Regions from separate parts of the Homo sapiens genome. Here all the other regions are linked to region 1. The links are contacts of gene promoters, found by promoter capture Hi-C in blood cells and fetal thymus (Javierre and others, 2016). All regions are on one chromosome and are shown on one strand. Each heading gives the region's core, a stretch centred on a gene start or on the middle of the fragment in contact. The rest is flanking DNA. Distances are from core to core; before and after follow the strand shown. Region 1 holds the start of MYL2 (myosin light chain 2). Region 2 overlaps CUX2 (cut like homeobox 2). Region 3 overlaps CUX2 (cut like homeobox 2). Region 4 overlaps CUX2 (cut like homeobox 2).

Region 1 (2,984 bases), core at 1-2,500:
ACTCAGGTCTCCAAACGGTGATGCTGGAGGGAGCAAAGGACATGACATGAAGTTTCTCCAGAGCCCTCTGGTACCAGTGGATCATAAGCGTTTGTGCATCTTGCAGTGGCTCCTTCACCAACTAGGAGAAGCCACAGGTGTGTCCCTGGGGATGGAGGCCACACCTTCAGATCGCCCCTGCAGGATCCAGCCACTTTTGTTCTGATGCATTTCACAAAAAGCTCAGTAATGCACAGAAGGAGAATTGATTGGAGGGAAAGAAAAAGTCAGGCTCACTAAGCCATGATGAATGCCAAGATGAAATGACAGTTCTTCAAGGTGTTAAAACCCAACTGCGCCCCACACCCCACAATTTTCCCTTGCTCCAAATGGCAGCAAAACCTCCTCTCTGAATGCTCCGTCCTTGCACCACATCAATAGGGCAGAGAAGAGCGAGTTGACCTTTCTTCCCCACCCCACTTCTCTCTGACTTTCAATAACAGCAAATGATTCGGTACTCTACATATGTATTATTTAATTCTCATAACCACTCTGTCAAGTGGATACTATTATTATCATCCCCATTTTACAGGAGAGGCAACTGAGGCTCAGAGAGGTTGGGTCACTTGCCCAAGATCACACAGCCACACACACAGAAGGCAGAGCCGGAGTTGAACTTGGGCGTTGAACTTGGGGAGTTGAACTTGGGCATTCTGACTCCAGAGTTCCTGCCTCTAACCACTCTCCCTCCTGTGCTGACCCTGATTTGGGGACTGCCCACTTCAGGAGGGGGACACCTAACCCAACAGCACAGAAAGAAAGGTTTTAAATTTGCAAGTTCAAAAGGTGAAAACAAAAACATTCTTTTTCCCAGCTGCCTGAACAAGAGAAAAGAATTACAATTTGATCCTTAAAAGCATTCAATCCCATTTTGCAAGTCCTGGGAGTTATTGATTCCTCGAGAGGTCAGTAGACAAGCCATAAAAAAGCCAACTCTCTTATTTTGTGTTTGTGAGTCCCCGAGAGCTGCTGTTATTTGTGGCCTATCGGGGCATTGATTGGGGTTCCTCTGTGCCCGCGCAGTCAATGGGGCTTTTTCCACAAGGGGCTGGAGGCTTTGAGGGCCGCCTTCCTCCCCCTCCGCCGTGGTCCCTCGCTTGTAGTGGCTTCCTCTCCTCGCCCACCCGGCATCATCACCTCCTGGAGCCCTTGTACTCACCATGGTGGAAAGGACCCAGCACTGCCTCCCGAGAAGAATTCCACACTCCGCCCAGCTCTCTGCAGCCCAGGAACAATAAATACTTCCTCCCCATGTTTAAAAATAACCCCATGACCGCTTTTGGCAGTCATAGGTGAGGCGGGCACCACCTAAGGCCCCCCCACCCCATGCCGTTCTTCTGAAGTAAGGGTGGCTCACTCGCCACTGGGTGACACGTGAGCCCCCAAAAAGGCATTCAAGGTTAAAGAGGCAGTAGCTGGGTCATGGTCACGGGGAGAGATGCTGCGCGCTCTCTGCGGTGCTTGGGCCGGGGACACTTGTGCTTGTCAATTTTGAGAAAAAAAATGGCAGGGAGAGGAGACTGCTAAAATGCTCTGTTTTATCAGCCTGGATCTGGCCTCAGGGTCTTTGCACCTGTGTGCCCTCTACCTGGAATGTCTTTCTGTCAGTCATCGCACGGCTCCTTCCTTCACCTCCTTCACTGCATCTTTGCTCATATGTCATCTCCTGAGTGAAGCCTCCCCGACCACCATCTTTAAAATAACCATGAAGGCTGGCACTGTGGCTCATGCCTGAAATCCCAGCACGGCGGGAGGCCGAGGCGGGAAGATTGCTTGAGCCTAGGAGTTTGCGACCAGCCTGGGTGACATAGGGAGATGCCTGTCTCTACGCAAAAGAAAAAAAAATAGCTGTGCGTGGTGGTGCATGCCTATAGTCTCAGCTATTCAGGAGGCTGGGACAGGAGGATCACTTGGGCCCGGGAGGTTGAGGCTGTGGTGAGCCACGATCACACCACTGCACTCCAGCCTGGGTGACAGAGCAAGACCCTGTCTCAAAACAAACAAATAACACAGCCACGCACCTCCTGCGCTCCGATCTCCCTTCTTTGTTTCTCTGCACAGCGTGAGGCAGTCCCGAACACTGCCCACAGTGCACTGACTCATTTTCTTCAGCATCTGTGGAGCGTCAGCTCAGAGGGCAGGGATCACTTTAGTTTCCCTCACCACTGACTGTCTCCCCAGCTCCCAGCTCATGATGCACACAGCAGCAGCTCAAAAATAAATATTTGTTGACTGAAGAAATGACAAATCTCATTGACTGAGCACTGGCACGTGCCGGACACTATGTGCTCATGGCTCCCACACATAATTTTCCAGCCACCCTAGAGGGTGGGGACCACCTCATCATCCATGCCCCCATTTTACAGATGCGGAAACAAAAGCTCAGAGAGGCGAAGTGAGCTGCCCAGGGTCACACAGTGATGGAGCTAGGCGTGGACCCCTCTGGAGGCCCCTTTGTCTCCAGAGTCCAGGCTCTTTAAGAGCCTTGAAAACAGCAGCTGCTCTCAGAATGCAAGGTGTCATTATATAATACTTTTACTGAAGACAGCTTTCCTGCTGGGTGCAGTGGCTTATACCTGAAATGCCAGCACTTTGAGAGGCTGAGGCGGGTGGATCACTTGAGTCAGGAGTTCAAGACGACCTTGGCCAACATGATGAAACTTGTCGCTACTAAAAATACAAAAATTAGCCAGGCGTTGTGGCGCGGGCCTGTAGTCCCAGCTACTCAGGAGACTGAGGCAGGAGAATCGCTTGAGGCCGAGAGGCAGAGGTTGCAGTGAGCCGAGATAGCGCCATTGCACTCCAGCCTGGGCGACAGAGTGAGACTCTGACTCAAAAAAAAAAAAAAAAAAAAAAAGGACGGGCATGTTGGCTCACACCTAGCACTTTGGGAGGCCGAGGCGGGTAGATCACCTGAGGTCAGGAGTTCAAGACCAGTCTGGCCA
Region 2 (2,984 bases), core at 362-2,861, 430 kb after region 1:
CAGACTCCGATTCCTAGAGAACTAAATTTGGCTTTAGTGTGACGGGATTTGATTAAGCACTTAGTATAGTCTTTTGAACACGGAAATCCTGTTGTACTTAAAGCTAGCGGACCCGTGAACAACTTTGTCAGGTTCACGTCCTATAACGGTTAAAAAACACACACACACATACACAAACCGTTTCTATGAGAGATTGATGAACTTTGTTTAAAATTTTAAAAAAAGGAACACGTTCTGTAAACGAGTCGCTAAATACAGAATTGTATAATAATTCTGGGTGTCTTGCTTCTTTGTTCTGGGGCTAGGAGTACAAACTGGAGGTCAGATCTGGCCCTCAGAGATGTTTTACAAAATGGTATTTTTTAAAACTAGTTTTTAAGGCACAATGGCTCACACCTATAATCCCAGTGCTTTGGGAGGCCAAGGTGGGAGGATTGCCTGAGCCCAGGAATTTGAGGCTGCAGTGAGCTATGATTGCCAGTGCATTCCAGCATAGACAGAGAGAGACCCTGTCTCTAAAAAAAAAAATTTAAGCCTGGTTTCTAAATTGCCAACATTGGCTGGGCATGGTGGCTCAGGCCTGTAATCCCAGAACTTTAGGAGGCCAAGGTGGGAGGATCACTTGAGGCCAGGAGTTTGAGACCATCCTGAGCAACACGGTAAGACCCTCCTCTCTAAAAAAAAAAAAAAAATGGCCAACATTTAATGGGCATGTCCCATTAAAAAGCATGATTATGAGCTTCTCCAGGAAATAGTCAAGATCTTGGCCACACTGGGCCCACGTTCCAATGTGACAACAGCCAGATGAGGGCTGGCTGCCTTTAGATGGGGCACATGCCCATGATTTGCTTCAGCCCTCAACTGTGCAACCTGCCTGGGCCTTGTGGGCATCTGGGTTGGCAAGTGTGCCTTGTGGACCAGCCTGCAGCAGAGTAGAAGCTGCTCAGACTCCAGGGCCTGGTATGAGGAGTCAAAACTGCACTCTACCCCTAAACCAGCAAGTGAACCAGCTTGCAAGCTGTGCCCACCTCTGTACAGTGTGTGAGTGGTTAGTGCCCCCAGGCCCGATGGGAAAATGCCAAGAGGGGCTTCCTGTTGACCAACATAGCATCACACCTTTCCTAGTTGTATAACTGGGGCCTCAGTTTCCTCATCTGCAAAATGGGGGTATCACAGCAGCCAACTCAGAAGGTCATTGTGAATAATATACATGCATATGCATATGCGTAAAACTGCACGGCAGTAAGAACTCGATAACTAAATACAAAAATTAGCCAAGCATGGTGGTGGGCACCTGTAGTCCCAGCTACTCAGGAGGCTGAGGCACGAGAATTGCTTAAACCCATGAGGCAGAGGCTGTAGTGAGGCAGAGGCTGTAGTGAGCCATTGCGCCACTGCATTCCAGCCTGGGTGGGCAGAGTGAGACTTTTTTTTTTTTTTTTTTTTTTTTGAGACGGAGTCTCGCTTTGTCGCCTAGGCTGGAGTGCAGTGGCGAGATCTCAGCTCACTGCAAGCTCCGCCTCCCGGGTTCACGCCATTCTCCTGCCTCAGCCTCCCGAGTAGCTGGGACTACAGGCGCCCGCCACCACCGCCGGCTAATTTTTTGTATTTTGTTTAGTAGAGATGGGGTTTCACCATGTTAGCCAGGATGGTCTCGATCTCCTGACCTCGTGATCCACCCGCCTCGGCCTCCCAAAGTGCTGGGATTACAGGTGTGAGCCACCACGCCCGGCCAAGTGAGACTATTAAAAAAAAAAATGCCAGGCGCAGTGGCTCACATCTGTAATCCCAGCACTTTGGGAGGCCAAGGCAGGTGGATCATGAGGTCAGGAGTTCGAGACCAGCCTGACCAACATGGTGAAACCCCATGTCTACTAAAAATACAAAAATTAGCTGGGCGTGGTGGTGTGCACCTATAATCCCAGCTACTCAGGAGGCTGAGACAGGAGAATCGCTTGAACCCAGGAGGTGGAGGTTACAGTGAGCCAAGATCGTGCCACTGCACTCTAGCCTGGGCGACAGAGCAAGACTCCATCTCAAAGGAAAAAAAGAAAAAACTCGGTAACTATTAGTTATTGTTATTGTAAGTAGGGGGTAGGTTCTTCCAGCCTATGATAGTGAGTCTCTGTGCATCAGGCTGCAGGAGGGGTTTTTTTGTGACCTATGATGTCAGGAGAGTCCCTGAAGTGGCACTAAACATTACTCACCCATGAGCCCAGCCATGTGGCTGTCCCAAGACAGCCCTTTTCCCTTTGTCTGGAAATCTTCCAATTGCCCCAGTTTTTCCGTATATCCTTGCAGGGAGCGTTAAACAATTACCCCCGTCTCGGTTAGGATAACTAATTGCTCCAAGCCCAGCAGGACAGCCCACTGGGATGCCTGGGCACCCCATCATGGAGTGGTGGGAGTGGGAGGTGGCAGGTCAGGGCCCAGGCCCCCATCAGCCCTGGAGCTCCTGAGTCAGCCCATTGCATGTGACATTTCAGGCGAATGGATGGCCTGTCCTCAGAGCTGGGGAGGAAGATGGGAGTCAAGAGCCAAATGGCCTGGTTTCAACTCTGGCTCCGCCTCTTAGAGCTGTGTGGCCTTGGGCAAATGCTTAAACTACACAGTGCCTCAGTTTCCCAGCCATAAAGTGGAGGCGGTAGGAATGGCATCTTGCTCACAAGGTGGTTGTAAAGATTCAAATTAAACAAAACCAAAGAATACCCTTTCAGACCCTCAGTTCATTCACAGCTCTTGAGAAGGTTGGAGGTCAGAAACCCCCAGGGTGTGGCCCCCTGTGGGACCAGGCTGGCAGGAGTGGAGTCTGGCACCACGCAAGCCACCTGAGAACCCGAGGGAGCAGGTGCCTGTGGGCTTCAGGGACTGAAGCATGTTCTGGGTCATCAGCTTTGGTGTTGACAGGGTGTCTGCCACCACTGCCCTGGAGTGAAACAGGCAGCAACAGCGCAGCAAAATGTGGAATTCTGCACTGGGGGGCT
Region 3 (2,984 bases), core at 206-2,705, 350 kb after region 1:
TACTAAAAATACAAAAATTAGCCAGGTGTGGTGGTGGGCACCTGTAATCGCAGCTGCTCGGGAGGCTGAGACAGGAGAATCGCTTGAACCCAGAAGGTGGAGATTGCAGTGAGCTGAGATCATGCCTGCACTCCAGCCTGGATGACAGAGCAAGACTGTCCTCTGTCTCAAATAAAAAAGGAATGGAGCTGTGATATGTGCTTCAGTGAAGATGAACCTCGAAAACACAGTGCTGAGTGAAGGAAGCCAGAAACCAAGGCCACATAGTGTAGGATTTCATTTACATGAAACATCCAGAACAGGCAAGCCGTAGATAAGAGTCGATTGTTGGTTGCCCGGGGCTGGGGAGGGAGATTGGAGAGTGACTGCTTAATCGGTATGAGTTTCTTTTTGGGGGATAAAAATATTCTGGAACTAAGTGAACAAGTGGTTGTAGAACATCAAGAATGTACTAAATGTCATTGAATTGTTCACGTTAAAATGATAAATTTTCTGTTGTATGAATTTCACCTTAATTGAAAAAAAAAGTCAACCTGTACTATTGGAAATCAAGATAGTGGTTTCAAACACTTGAAGGGGGCCAAGAGTTCCTGGGAGGGGCCTCTGGGTGCTGGGACTGTGGTTTCTCGGTCCTGGTTTGGGTTACAGTTTGAGAACATTTGGTTGTACACAAAGGATCTATACATATGCCAGACATCCATAAAAGCTTCCCCTATTTTATTTTATTTTATTTTTATTTTATTTTATTTTATTTTATTTTATTTTATTTTATTTTATTTTTGAGACAGGGTCTTGCTCTGTTGCCCAGGCTGGAGTGCAGTAGCGCGATCTCAGCTCACTGCAACCTCCGCCTCCCGGGTTCAAGCAATTCTCCTGCCTCAGCCTCCCGAGTAGCTGGGATTACAGGCATGCACCACCATTCCCGGCTAATTTTTTGTATTTTTAGTAGAGACAGGGTTGCCCTATGTTGGCCAGCCTGGTCTCAAACTCCTGGCCTCAAGTGATCCGCCCACCTCAGCCTCCCAAAGTGCTAGGATTACAGATGTGAGCCACCGCACCCGGCCAAAACTTTCCCTTGTTTTAAATGGCCCATCCCCTGCTACCTTCTCATTTACTGACCCAGAAACAGGAGCCCAAAGAGTTGAAATGATCTGCTTACCAATGGCAGAGCCCGGAGGAGGCCTTGCTGTGCTAACTCTCCCCACCCAGACCTCTCCCAGTCCTTTCCCCCATCCTTCCACACAGTGGCAGGAATCAGCACTACGGGAGGTGTTTGAGGCTGGGGGCCTGTGAAGAGGAAAATGACATCCCACCCTCAGCTGTCCGACTGCAAAACCCAAACCACAGAGAACACAGAGTCATTTAGATTAGATGTCAAGGTCATTTCTGGGATCTTTGTATTTGGGGTGGGAAAGTCCACTGTTCCTCTGTCTGGGGCAACTGTAGTGGGTTGGATAGTGTGGCCTCCAAAATTTATGTCTACGTAGAACTTCAAAATATGACCTTATTTGAAAATAAGTCTTTGCAGATGTAATTAGCTAAGGATCTCAAGATGAGATCATCCTGGCTTTAGGGTGAGCCCTAAATCCAATGACTGGTGTTGTAAGAAGTATGGGGCCAGGCACAGTGGCTCAAAGCCTGTAATCCCAGCACTTTGGGAGACAGAGGCAGGAGGATCACTTGAGGTCAGAAGTTCAAGACAACCCTGGTCAACATGGGGAAACCCCATGTCTACTAAAAATACAAAAATTAGCCAGGTGTGGTAGCCTGTATTCCCAGCTACTCAAGAGGCTGAGGCAGGAGAATCGCTTGAACCCAGGAGGCGGAGGTTGCAATGAGCCGAGATCACAACACTGCACTCCAGCCTGGGTGACAGAGCAAGACCCTGTCTCAACAAAAAAAAAAAAAAAAGAGACGAGGGTACAGAGATAGCCACTGAGGAAAGCTGTGTAAAAACAGAGGCACGGTGGAAATGATGTAGCTACAAGGCAAGGAGCACCAAAGATTGCCAGCAACCATGAGAAACTGGGAGAGACAAGAAGGATCCTTCCCTAGAGTCTTCAGAAGGAGTACAGCCCTGCCAGTGTCTTGATGTTGGACTTATGGTCCCCAGAACTACAAGACAATAAGTGTCTGTTGTTTTCAGCCCCCAGTTGGTGGTGCTTTTCTACTGCAGCGCTGGGACACTAATCCAGCAATGCTGACAAAGCTTGCCCTCCGACAGCGTGTGGCCTGGATGAAGAGGGAGGTCTTCTGGCCTGTTGCTACTCAAAGTGTGGTCTGTGGACCAGAAACATCAGCCTCACCTGCAAGCTGGTTAGAAATGCAGAGGCTCAGCCGCAGGTGGCGGCTCATGCCTGTAATGCCAGCACTTTGGGAGGCCCAGGTGGGAGGATCACTTGAAGCCAGGAGTTTGAGACCAGCCTAGGCAACATGGAGAAACCCTGTCTCTACAAAAAAAATACAAAAATTATCTGGGCATGGTCGTGGGCGCCTGTGGTCCTAGCTACTTGGGAAGCTGTGGTGGGAGAATTGCTTGAACCCAGGAGGTGGAGGTTGCAGTGAGCTAAGATTGTGCCACTGCATTCCAGCCTGGGTGACAGAGCAAGACCCTGTCAAAAAAAAAAAAAAAAAAAAAAGAAAGAAAGGGAGGGAGGGAGGAAGGAAGGACTACAGAGTCTCAGGCCCCATCCCCGGCCCACAGAATCAGCTTCTGCATTTTATCAAGCTCCCCTGTGATCTTGGAGCATGGGAAAGTTTGAGCGCACAGGCCTGATATAGAAGTTGCCTTTGTTCTGTGCTCTGCGTTTCACACGCCCCATGGGAGCAGGTCCAAGCAACTCGCTTCTCTGTGGCACAGAGAGGTTGAGCCCGATGCCCAAGGTCTCACAGGCAGGGAGAGATGTGACTCGGGTCTCATCATGTATAACAAATATTTCCAGACTCTGCTCCGTGTGACAAGCTGGCTGCACGTGGAAGGCTGA
Region 4 (2,984 bases), core at 256-2,755, 300 kb after region 1:
CTGCAAAAAAAAAAAAAAAAAAAAAAAAAAAAAAAAAAAAATTTAAATGAGCTGGGCATGGTGGCTTGTGCCTGTAGTCCCAGCTACTCAGGAGGCTGAGGTGGGAGGATCACTTGAGCCCAGGAGTTCAAGGCTGTAGTGAGCTATGATTATACCATTTCTTTCTAGTATGGGCAACAGAGCGAGACCTGGTCTCTTAAAAAAAAAAAAAAAAAAAAAAAAGGAAAAAGGATTCAAACACTTCAGCAGCATGGAGGCAGTCCCAGGGTCTGGCACACCGTTGGTGCTCAGTAAATACTAGGACAGAGAAAGTCTTAGGCCAAAAGGAAAGACAAAGCAGAATTCTCATTTTCAAAACCCATGTGGCATATTGAATAGATGCTGCTTTAATAGCTGGAGACCTTAAAGAACTTTGTTAATTTTCTTAAGAGGGCTTTCCATCGTCCCTTTAATGTACCAAGAAGACTACATTTGTCTGGAATTTTATTCCCGAAACCCCTGCTTTTCTCGTGATCTATTGACTAAGCCATTGTGGCCTCTGTGTCCTCCTTGTGCCTCAGGGGAGAGACGCTGCCAAAGGAAGGTGTTAATAAAAAGCATCTTCTTCGTCCAGAAAAAGCTGCACATGCACAGGCCATTTATAATCCAAATTTGATTTTCATTTTAATTTTTTTAATGAGGCCTCATCCTTTATGCCGCTGTCCTCTTGCAATCCACCAGGCTCTGGGCTGGCACTGCGATTCCCAAGTGGGTATTAATCACCTCCTGGAAATATTCCCTGGAGCAAATACCATCCCAAGTCACATAAACTAGCCCATAAAACGCCAGGGCAGAATATCATGCCCGTCATTCCTTCTTCCCAGTGCAGGCCTTTCCTTGAAATATACCATGTTCAGTTTCATGGTAAGTACCATGAAATATACCATGTTCAATAAAATATACCATGTTATTCCTGAATTTTGCTTCACCAGCCCTGGTGTGTTCAGAATCTGGGCATACTTCTTATCTTTTTATATTATATATGTGTGGGTCTCTTTTCTTTCTTTCTGTGTGTGTGTGTGTTTGTGTGTGTGCGTGCCGGTGGGAGGGGGTGGAGAGGAAGTGAATTTGCCCTGCTGTGAATCAAGGAAGCTTCTCTGTCTGCCTTGATTGCTTAAAGGACAGTTTAGATTTCTCCTGTTCAGGGAAACAAAGACAGCCAGAGAAGGTGGCTTAATGGAGACAGCTTGAAATGGCCAAAGTTTGAATATCCTTGCGTACAGAGAAAAGAGCAAGACGAAAGCCTCGCTAATTATAAAAGTTGCTTTATGAAAGATAATTCAAAGCAATAATTTAGCAAACATAATCAAGTCGCACAGATGGGGTTGTTGATGGATGGATTGCAACATGCAATTAGCAGTTCTCGCAGTTACATATCATTAACCCTCCGAGCACAAAAATTATTTTCTCATTATTAGTTGAAAAGGTAAAATTAAGCTGACTAGACAGTAAAGGAACAAACTACAATTAATTACCTTCATTTATTACAGTCATTATTTTAAACTTATTTTTACTTGGAGGGAGACATGAAAACATCTAAATTAAAAGTTTTGTTATGCTAACTCGGAGGTGAAACTTTTCTGAAGCGCGTGTGCACTGTCCCAGCTTGAAAGACCACAGGGCCACTGTTGGGAGATTTTCTTTTTCTCTGCCGCCTTTTTCTTCCACCATAAAGGGGATGTGGCCTGTATGGTGGAAAACCTTTTGGGTTGGATTGGAACAGAGACATTCACCTGGGCCTGATTGAAACACAGTAGTTTGGAGACCAAGTGGGCTGACCTGGCCTCTGACACCCAGGAGAGGTTAGACACCTGTGGTCTGAGCCCCACCCTCACACTGACAAGCTTATGTGACCTTGGCGAGTGACTTTATGTCTCTGAGCCACTGTTTCCTCATCTGTAAATAGGGTCAGCTCATAGGATTGCATGAGATTCAGTGACATTCTGTGTGTCAAGTGGCCAGTGAGTCACTTGTTGTCACCATGGTGGGCGTGCATGGTTGTGTGGGACTGAGAACGTTCTCCCTCTAATCACTCAGGGTCTGGGGGAATTCGTGTGGCATGATCACCTTCTAGGAGCTTAGAGAAGGGGGTAAAGATGCATTAGATCATCACTTGAGCCCATGTAATCATTTAGTCACCTCAACAAGCATTTATTGAATAGCTGCTGCATACTAGGCAGGGTTCCAGATGCTGGCCCAGTGATGGTCACAACCCAGTGGTCACCTCGCCTCCTTTTGGTATGAGGGAGAGCAAGCATTTTTGCAGTACCCGGAAGAAGGACTTCCCAAAGGAGACAAGGCCACCCTTCTATTGGCAGCGTGCAGGTCCGCTCAACAGATCCTTGTGGAGAACCTTCTATGTCCCAGGCTCTGTGTGAGGACTGTTGCAGATCCAAAGATGGTGAGACACCATCCCTGCCCTCAAGGATGTCCCTAGGATTCCGCATGGAATCCTTTAAAGAAAGAAAAAGAAAAAATGTCTGTAGGAGCCAAGTCCCTGTGATTCTGAAATAATGTCCAGAAGCCCAAGGGAGGCCGTCGGTTCCATCCCAGAGGTTCTATTTGTTTGCTGCGCTTCACATTGACACCCTGCCCCGATGACAGCCACGGCAGTATCTCCATCCCATGCACATCTGCCGTGTGTCCCTGCATTCCCCTGCCAAGAGATGGAGTCTGTGTCTCCATCCTTTGAATCTGGGCCTGTGCCTACTTTGACCAGTAGAACATGGTGGAGGTGACACTGTGCCATGATCCAGCATAGCCTTTAGCCTACCTGCTGGCTCTCCCCACCACATCTCTCCAAACCCATCCTTTATGTGAGAAGTGTGACTACCTGGAGACCACCCTGCATGGAGAGGTTCTGGGGGATAAGACAGCACATGGCGGAGAGGCCAGGAGTGCTGAGGTACCAGACTGGAGTCAGGGGCCATGGTGGACATCCAACC

The links. Contacts are between HindIII fragments. The CHiCAGO score rates a contact against its expected background, and 5 or more counts as called.
Region 2: a fragment that was not itself captured here is called in contact with the fragment with the promoter of MYL2 in region 1 in 1 of 17 cell types (M2 macrophages); the score reaches 6.1 in M2 macrophages.
Region 3: a fragment that was not itself captured here is called in contact with the fragment with the promoter of MYL2 in region 1 in 1 of 17 cell types (endothelial precursors); the score reaches 5.6 in endothelial precursors.
Region 4: a fragment that was not itself captured here is called in contact with the fragment with the promoter of MYL2 in region 1 in 1 of 17 cell types (endothelial precursors); the score reaches 5.2 in endothelial precursors.

Annotation. Positions count from the first base shown.
Region 1 is chr12:110,919,329-110,922,312 of GRCh38, forward strand. MYL2 (myosin light chain 2) reads right to left here and starts at 1,251. Exons shown (of 7, transcript NM_000432.4): 1 at 1,199-1,251. The coding sequence starts at 1,201. RefSeq lists an enhancer at 1-2,059. The HindIII fragment of the contact is 13,220 bases long and covers 1-2,984 here.
Region 2 is chr12:111,350,284-111,353,267 of GRCh38, forward strand. CUX2 (cut like homeobox 2) reads left to right here. Exons shown (of 22, transcript NM_015267.4): 22 at 1-271. Among named protein-coding and RNA genes, the nearest start is that of PHETA1, 17 kb to the right of the region's middle. The HindIII fragment of the contact is 4,968 bases long and covers 1-2,984 here.
Region 3 is chr12:111,264,579-111,267,562 of GRCh38, forward strand. The region is part of intron 4 of CUX2 (cut like homeobox 2); the gene reads left to right. Among named protein-coding and RNA genes, the nearest start is that of MIR6760, 38 kb to the right of the region's middle. The HindIII fragment of the contact is 1,503 bases long and covers 705-2,207 here.
Region 4 is chr12:111,220,740-111,223,723 of GRCh38, forward strand. The region is part of intron 3 of CUX2 (cut like homeobox 2); the gene reads left to right. Among named protein-coding and RNA genes, the nearest start is that of MIR6760, 82 kb to the right of the region's middle. The HindIII fragment of the contact is 752 bases long and covers 1,130-1,881 here.